3 separate regions of the Homo sapiens genome follow, and all the other regions are linked to region 1. Evidence: promoter capture Hi-C in human tissues and cell types (Jung and others, 2019). All regions are on one chromosome and are shown on one strand. Each heading gives the region's core, a stretch centred on a gene start or on the middle of the fragment in contact. The rest is flanking DNA. Distances are from core to core; before and after follow the strand shown.

Region 1 (2,700 bases), core at 185-2,684:
TCAAGTGATCCCCCACCTTGGCCTTCCAAAGTGCTGGGATTACAGGTGTGAGCCACCAAGACTGGCCACCCCCATTTTAGGACAAGAGAAGAGAGGTGATAAGGAACTGCTATTTCAAAAAGATGAATGGGAGGGAAGGGACCAGAAAGTGACATCATCAGGGAACACTTGATTCAGGCATGGGTAGCAAGTTCAGTTACCTTACTCCTGGCAGCAACAGGATTGGGGGAGGGGGTCTTGGAGAAGATTTTGTCTGCAAATGTCGCAACACTGTTGCAGTGTGAGTATGACCCAAAGTGCTTGGCAGGGGGACAGGCCTGCTGCTTCCCTGCATTCTGGGCTGACCTCTTCACCTGAGTCGGTCAGTGGACGCTTTTGGCCTCCTTCCTGGAGCTAGACAGCTGTTAGGCTTAGGGAGCAGCTCCGGACCTACAGGGTTGGGGTGCAGGTAGGGAGGGAGGCTGCAGCATGTCAGAGTGGTAAATACATGTCCTGATTTCCAGGACTGATTTCACATATTCTGCCCCACAAGTTCACCAGCACCTGTCAGATTGGATGTCCCAGTTTTTGGTTTGGAAAATTCGATCTGTCTCAGGTAATGGAGAAGGGGGAGACAGCAGTTCATTCATTCCAGTGTCTAAGCCTGTGGTTGGTGGGAACAAGAGACTGTCTGGGATGGCTCCAGCCCTTCGCTGGAATCTCGCATTGAATTCCTAGCTCCGCCCTGATCCGTGCTGAGGCGAGCAGGTGAGTGGGACGGACAGCGCTGTGCCTGCACCCTCCTAGCCCCACTTGCTTACCGCGGCCCCTGCCTTATCCCACACTGGGAAGTATGCTCTGTTAGCCTCGGCTCAGCCTTGCCTCATCGGCCCAGTGGGGAGAGTCCAGGGAGGAGAGAGGCTCCACGTGCTAAAGGAAAGCGGCCTGCCAGACACTGCTGCTTAAGGAGACTGTCTAAGCAATCGGATTCGGTGCGGCCGAGATGCAGACGTCCGTTTCTCCCAAGGGAAGGAGCAAGGGTACTCCAGGTCCCAAAGCTGCGTTACAGCCAGTTGGGCTAATCCTACCCGCCCCTCCCCCAACTCCCCGAGTGGCAATCTGTCCAGCCCCTCAAGCGATCAGGCCACAACCCCCAGCACCGCGCGTTCTCCTCCCAGCCTAGCCCGGCCCATCTCCCCACCCGGGGCCCCGCCCCGGCCCCGCAGGCTCCCAAGAGGCGGTGGATGGGCCAGCGGGACTACAAGTCCCAGCAGGCCCCGGGGCCCGCCCTCGTGGGGCGGAGCCAAGCCAGCAGCGAATTGGGAGGAGCCCTGGCGCTCAGGCTAGGGAACGCGTGTGGCCAATCGCGGGGCCGTTCTCGCCGCGAGCCGATGGGGGCGGGGAAAAGTCCGGCTGGGCCGGGACAAAAGCCGGATCCCGGGAAGCTACCGGCTGCTGGGGTGCTCCGGATTTTGCGGGGTTCGTCGGGCCTGTGGAAGAAGCGCCGCGCACGGACTTCGGCAGAGGTGAGCACGGGAGGCTGTTTTCGCTGGCTGGAGCCCGCTCGCCCTAGGAGCTTCCTGCCTCCGTCCCCCAACCCGGAACCGCCTTCCCCGACGCGGGCTCGGTGCCCACGCGCCCTGCTCGGAAGTTTTGAGGGTCTTAGCTTTAGGTTAGCCTTCGCCCGGGGTCCCGGCCGGTGGCCGCGTGTCGACGCCCCTCCCCTCCCCCCGCGCGACACACACATATTCCAGTTCCTGGGAGTTTGCATGGGGCTTGCCGCCATCCTTGCCTCTTCTGCCTCTGCCACATTGCATGGTCCCCCTCCTGGCGCGCCTCACCCCTCCCGGGCACAGCTATCGAGGCTCCTCGGGCTCATCGGGACGCCTTTTGGCTCCATCCGGGTTCCCCCATCGGATGCCGGGACGGGAAGTAGAGAAAGCGGTGGCGACTGGTCCCACTCCGATTCCTCACTGGCCGGGCTCAGGCCCTTCTTGGTTCCGTGGGTACAAAATTGAGCTCCACGCCCAAGTGGAGAGAATGAGCTATGCGCGCCTCCGGGGCGGGCCACGCGGGGCCAGGCTGCCCCAGGGTGCCCGAGGCCTCGCCTCGTCTCGCCGCGAGGACTGGAATCTCGCAGCAAGGACCCTCCTCGCACTGGAGGTATCGTCGAGTCCAGCCCCTAAGTGACAGATGGCCGGGGTGCCACCCCACCCTTGAGCTGACGCCAAGTCTGGCCGGGGAAAGGTCCTCAAGGGGCTGGAGGATGCTGCCGCCGCCCTCCTGTCGAGCCTGGCAATGGGCCAGTCCCAGCGCCTGCCGCGGTCTCCAACCTTGGCAGATACCGTGCAGTGCCGAGTTCTGCCGTTATGGGGTCCCTGGAGGTCTTCCTGGGAAGAGGATTTTGGAAGAGACGATAAGGAAAAGTGCACAGCACAGTTTGGCCAGCTAGCCTACTCCTCTCCACCCTTAACTTTCCTCTGTGTTTTCAGCTGGCTCAGCTGAACTAAAATGTGGGGTGAGGGACAGCTGGTAGGTCTCATTTGCCCAGATGGGTGATTTTCACCTCTTAGAAACCTTCCTAAACAGCTTGGGGGGCGGTAGTGGGAAGACCCCTCAGACACTGGACAGCTTATGGCTCCATCCCCGTTCTGACACTATGCCTGCCGCAGTAAGGGGCACTCACAGAATTCTGCCTCTCTAGAATTTACTCCAGGGATT
Region 2 (2,756 bases), core at 257-2,756, 510 kb before region 1:
ACAGTGGCGTGATCTCAGCTCACTGCAACCTCTACCTCCCGGGTTCAAGTGATTCTCCTGCCTCAGCCTCCCAAGTAGCTGGGACTACAGGCATGCGCCACCACACCCGGCTAGTTTTTGTATTTTTTGGTAGAGACAGGGTTTCACCATGTTGGCCAGGGTGATCTTGAACTCCTGACCTCAAATGATCCGCCTGCCTTGGCCTCCCAAAGTGCTGGAATTACAGGCGTGAGCCACTGCACCCAGCCAAAATTGTAATATTTTAGACTCCTCCTTCTCCTTCAGTATCTACATGTACTCATTCATCAAGCCCTAATGGTTTTCATGCTATAGTGCTCACCCATCAGTCCTCTCTCTGTGCCCCGTAATGCTCTAGTTCAAATGATCATCTTCCCCTGCTGGGACTATTGCAGTAGTCTCCTGTTAGATCTCCTTTTTTCTAGTCCCAGCACCTTCCAAACTATCATTTACAGTTTTTCAAATCAATTTTCATTCTAAAATGCATTATGAATTGGAAGGAAAAGGTTGGAGACACAGAGACAAACTAGGAAAGTACAGTAACAGCCATCAGCTGGTAACAACAGGATCAGACAGACAGTCACAGAAATGGGAATTACAGGGGAGTGATAATGAAGGAAGGAAGGCAGGATCTGGGATTTCATTTGCTTTAGTAGATGAGAGAAAGAGAGGAGATAAATATAATTCTAAGGTTGGAGTCTCTGGTGTTTGATAGGACGGTCCCACCATCAACAGAAATAAGCCAAGAAGCATTCTAGCTTTTGAGGAAAGATATTTGGTTTAGGCGGGGCATGGTGGCTCACGCCTGTAATCCCAGCACTTTGGAAGGCTGAGGTGGGTGGATTATGAGGTCAGGAGTTCGAGACCAGCCTGACCAACATGGTGAAACCCCGTCTCTACTAAAAATACAAAAATTAGCCAGACGTGGTCATGCGCACCTGTAATCCCAGCTACTCGGGAGGCTTAAGCAGGAGAATTGCTTGAACCCAGGGGGCAGAGGTTGCAGTGAGCCGAGATTGTGCCACTGTATTCCAGCCTGGGTGACAGAGCAAGACTCCGTCTAAAAAAAAAATTAGCCTGTTGTGACCAGTAGTCCAAGCTACTTGGGAGGCTGAGGAAGGAGGATGGCTAGAGACCAGTAGTTTGAGGTTGCAGTGAGCCATGATTGTGCCATTGCACACCAGCTTGGGCAACAGGGAGACTGTCTCTTAAAAAAACAAAAAAATGGAAACAACTCAAACGTCCATCAGCTGATGAATGGATAAACAGCATGGGGCATATTTATACAACGGAATATAGCCATAAAGAGGAATGAAGTATTGATACATGCTACAACATAGATCAACCTTGAAAACATGCTAAGTAAAAGAAGCGAGACACAAAAGGCTACAAATTGTATGATTCCATTCATATGAAGTGTTCAGAACAGGAAAATCTATAGAGACTTAAAACTTACTGGTTGCTAGGGGACAGGGAAGAGAGGAGTGGGGAGTGACAGCTAATGGGTATGAGGTAACAGTGGTGAATTTCACCTGAGCCCTGTGCTCTTGGAAAACATCCAAGGTTAAAGGAATCCCCTATGTTTTTGTTTACTGCCAAGAACCACCCTTCCCCATGTGACTCGCAGATGCCCCCCATTGTTTACCTGTGACAGGAACAGACACAGAACTTCAAATTCTTATTCTCTGCCTCATGAATGACCAGCTAAACTGGTTTTCCCAACACTGATCACGATGAACAAAATGCTCATTAAACAAATTTTGTTGGTTCAGCGTGGTGGCTCACACCTGTAATCTCAGCACTTTGGGAGGCCAAGGTGGGCAGATCACCTGAGGTCAGGAGTTCAAGGCCAGCCTGGCCAACATAGTGAAACCCGTTTCTACAAAAATACAAAAATTAGCCGGGCATGATGGCGTGTGTCTGTAATCCCAGTTACTCAGGAGGCTGAGGTGGGAGAATCACTTGAACCCGGGAGGCGGAGGTTGCAGTGAGCCGAGATCACGCCATTGTACTCCAGCCTGGGTGACAGAGTGAGACTCCGTCTCAAAAATAAATAAATAAATAAAAGGCTGGGCTCGGTGGCTTAAGCCTGTAATCTGAAGTTGGGACTTCGAGACCAGGCTGACCAACATGGAGAAACCCTGTCTCTACTAAAAATACAAAAAATTAGCCGGGCATGGTGGCGCATGCCTGTAATCCCAGCTACTCGGGAGGCTGAGGCAGGAGAATCTCTTAAACCTGGGAGGCGGAGGTTGCTATGAGCCAAGATAGCGCCAGTGCACTCCAACCTGGACAACAAGAGCGAAACTCCGTTTCAAAAAAAAAAAATAACACATTTTGTTTAAGCTTTTCTTCTTCCTCCAGGCCCTGAACTCTGGCCCACCCTCACTGGGCCTGAGCCAGCACACAACCCCTCCTGAGGATAGCCTGACCTCAGGGTAAAACATTCTCTGATCTATTCTCTCATCAGGCCACTTTCCTCCTATTCTCTACACCTGGTTCTTTCTAGCTTTGTTTACTCCTCTCTATAAAAGGAAAAAGGTCTGGCCCTTAAGACATTTGCAGAACTATGGGCCGATCCTTCTCCCTATTGCAATAGACTCCCTCCCCGTATTGCAACAGTCTTTTTCCCCTCCTTGCAAACATTCTTTAGGATAAAGTCTCCCTTTAGTGTTTTTTCTTTGTCGGGGGCTTTCTGGGGGCTGATGAAAGTTGATTCTTGCACAACATTGTGAATA
Region 3 (2,700 bases), core at 136-2,635, 740 kb before region 1:
GTCAAAGATGTCTTCATGAATTTTCTCACCCTGTATAGAGATATGGAAAGGGAGGGTCAGGCCAAAGGTTCCAGAGAGCATCTTTTCTCAGCACAGCACCAAGAATTCTGTCTACCCTGGAATATTGTTGCCACCCTGAAGCAGAGCCTAGGCTGTAGCCCTCAACCCAGAAGTGCTACTATTGCAAATGATTTGCACAAAATTTGCATAAACCTCTCCCTGGCTGTCCCTCTTGTTCGGGACATCCTTTTGTCTCTTATTTTCTGTCAGTCAGGTCAAATTCCTAGTAGCTTGAGCCTGCCTTGCCTCTGGATGGGAATATCAAAGGTCTCTGGAATGGTCGCTAGGACACCTGGGAGAATCCGCTGGCCCAGTTGTTGCCAGCTCCTCCTCCATGTTCCGACAGGTAGATGTTCTCTGGGTTGTAGAGCTTGGCATAGGGGGAGTTGAGGATGGAGTGGATCACCCGGGGTTCCAAGTCCAGCAGCACGGCCCGGGGGATGTAGTGCTCATCGTCTGCCTGTCAAGGGGAGTCCAGGAGGGGGCCCAATCAGCTAGGGCGGCCCAAGTCCGAAGTCCTCCCAACTCTGGCTCCCTCCGGCCCTCCCTCCTCAAGCCAGCCGCCTGGCCCTACTGCCCAGCGGGGTTCCCAGTACCAGGCCACTCCCTTCCCTTCCGCCCCCTTGGGCCACTGCCGCCCCCGGCCAAGTCGCTGGGGGCACCTGGTAGAAAAAGACGTCCTTGCGGTCAGTGCCCTCGGTGGCGAATTCCTCCACGATGCCCTCGGGGCTGATACCATGCTCGGCGCACAGCTGTTTCCAGAACTCGAACCCAACTGGGGGAGGGGGGAGATGCCCGGGTCTGCTGGAGCCTTAAGGCCTGAGGAGCCCAGTTTTAGTCTCAGAGGCTGACACGATCAGAGGGTGGACCCAAGATGCCTGGGTTTGGTAGCTGCCCCAGCCCCGGGCTGGAGGCGCAGCTCTCGGTCTGGGTTATCCAGAGCAGCAGGGCAGGGGGTTCATGGAAGGGAAAGGGGGACTGGTGGAAGCCAGGCACTTGGGTGGGACCCGAAGGGGCAGAACCAGAGACCGGCGGGGCCGGCGCTCGCTTGCTCACTCTGGTTGCCGCACTGGCCCAGCTGCAGGGTGATGATCTCCCGGGGCATCGCTCTTCAGACGTGGGCGCGCCAGCCCCGGCCTGGCGAGAGTCACGGCTGAGACGAATGCCCGGCAGCCAGGAGCGCAGGACGTGGGGAGCGCGCGCTCTCTTCGCCTCTTGACGCGGATGCTCGGTCTGCGCGTGTGCAGCGCAGGCCTCTCCTCGGCCGGTGGGCCGGGGAGCCCAACCTGGGCATCATTTTCTCCCTCAGCAGTCGCAGCTGGAATTCCGCACAGGCGCAGAGTCAGGCCACGCCCGCTCCTGCCCACCGCTCCGCGCCTGCGCAGTGAGACTCGTTGGGGGTGGCAGGGTCGGAACCTGGATGTGTTGGGGAGGAGAGGAACGGGGGAGGGGAGGAAAGGGGAGAAGCGGCCAGGTGGATGTGCTTGTCCACGTGTAAGGAGTCATCTACCTATATTGGTAGGTGAGGACACTGTCAGCTTTGCTAGATCAAAGGGCTAGAAGCCAACTTTTCTTCGTTTAAATTTCTGTTTTTTAATGGTGTTACAATACATACACATGTATGTTACCTTTTTATTTTTTAGAAGGGTCTCGCTCTGTCGCCCAGGCTGGAGTGCAGTGGCGCGATCATAGCTCACTGTAGCCTTGAACTTCTGGCTTAAGTGATCCTCCCACTTCAGTCTCCCGAGTAGCTGGGACTACAGGCGTGTGCTACCACGCCCAGCTAATTTTTAAATTTTTAAAATGTATTTTTATAGAGATGGGGATCTCACCGTGTTGCCCAAGATGGTCTTAAACTACTGGCCTCAATCAATCCTCCTGCCTTGGCCTCCCAAAATGCTGGGATTACAGGCATGAGCCACCACTCCTGGCCTAAATTTACCATTGTAACCATTTGTAAGTACTGCATACAGTTCTGTGGCACCAAGTACACTCACATTGTTCTGTAACCACCACCACCATTCTTTTCTAGAACTTTCTTATCTTCCCAAACTGAAACTCTATCGCGATTAAACAGTAACTTCCCCTTGACTACTCTAGGCACCTGATATGAGTGGAATTATACAGTATTTGTCTTTTTGGGTCTGGCTTCTTTCACTTAACATAATATCTTCAAGATCCTTCCATTTCGTAGCATGTGTCAGAATTTCCTTCCTTTTTACAACTGAATAATATTCCATTGTATAGATGTACCACATTTTGCATAACCATTCATCCCTCCATGGACATTTGGGTTGCTTCCACCTTTTGGCTATTGTGAATGTTGCTGCTTTGAATGTGAGTGTACAAATATCTGTTCGAGTCCCTGCTTTCAATTATTTTGGATATACACCCAGAGGTAGAATTGCTGGATCATATGGTAATTGTGTTTAATGTTCTGAGGAATCGCCATACGATTTTCCATGGTAGCTGCACCATTTTAAATTCCCACCAGCAATGCACAAGGGTTCAGTTAAATAAATTTTATAGGAGGCCATTGATTTGCACTGAGCTCCTGTGCTTGGCTCAACAGACCAAACCAAAATGGAGTCACTCACGCTAAAGTTCTATGTCACTAAGCAACACTAAGTTGTTTATCAA

Evidence for each region. The method cuts DNA at HindIII sites, captures the fragments that hold promoters and counts their contacts. A contact is called where the count stands out against the background at its distance.
Region 2: a fragment that was not itself captured here is called in contact with the fragment with the promoter of ACLY in region 1 in 1 of the 25 tissues and cell types used here (small bowel).
Region 3: a contact is called between the fragment with the promoter of TUBG2 here and the fragment with the promoter of ACLY in region 1, in 1 of the 25 tissues and cell types used here (spleen).

Annotation. Positions count from the first base shown.
Region 1 is chr17:41,917,685-41,920,384 of GRCh38, reverse strand. It overlaps ACLY (ATP citrate lyase), which reads left to right and starts at 1,434. Exons shown (of 29, transcript NM_001096.3): 1 at 1,434-1,505. RefSeq lists silencers at 1,052-1,311, 1,792-2,031. The HindIII fragment of the contact is 39,518 bases long and covers 1-2,700 here.
Region 2 is chr17:42,431,754-42,434,509 of GRCh38, reverse strand. All of the region lies in intron 2 of LOC102725238 (a long non-coding RNA gene), which reads right to left. Among named protein-coding and RNA genes, the nearest start is that of CAVIN1, 9.9 kb to the right of the region's middle. The HindIII fragment of the contact is 7,652 bases long and covers 1-2,756 here.
Region 3 is chr17:42,657,969-42,660,668 of GRCh38, reverse strand. TUBG2 (tubulin gamma 2) reads right to left here and starts at 1,385. Exons shown (of 11, transcript NM_016437.3): 1 at 1,117-1,385; 2 at 723-835; 3 at 353-520; 4 at 1-30. The coding sequence starts at 1,165. RefSeq lists enhancers at 1,169-1,238, 1,289-1,358, 1,369-1,428, 786-1,553. The HindIII fragment of the contact is 23,957 bases long and covers 1-2,700 here.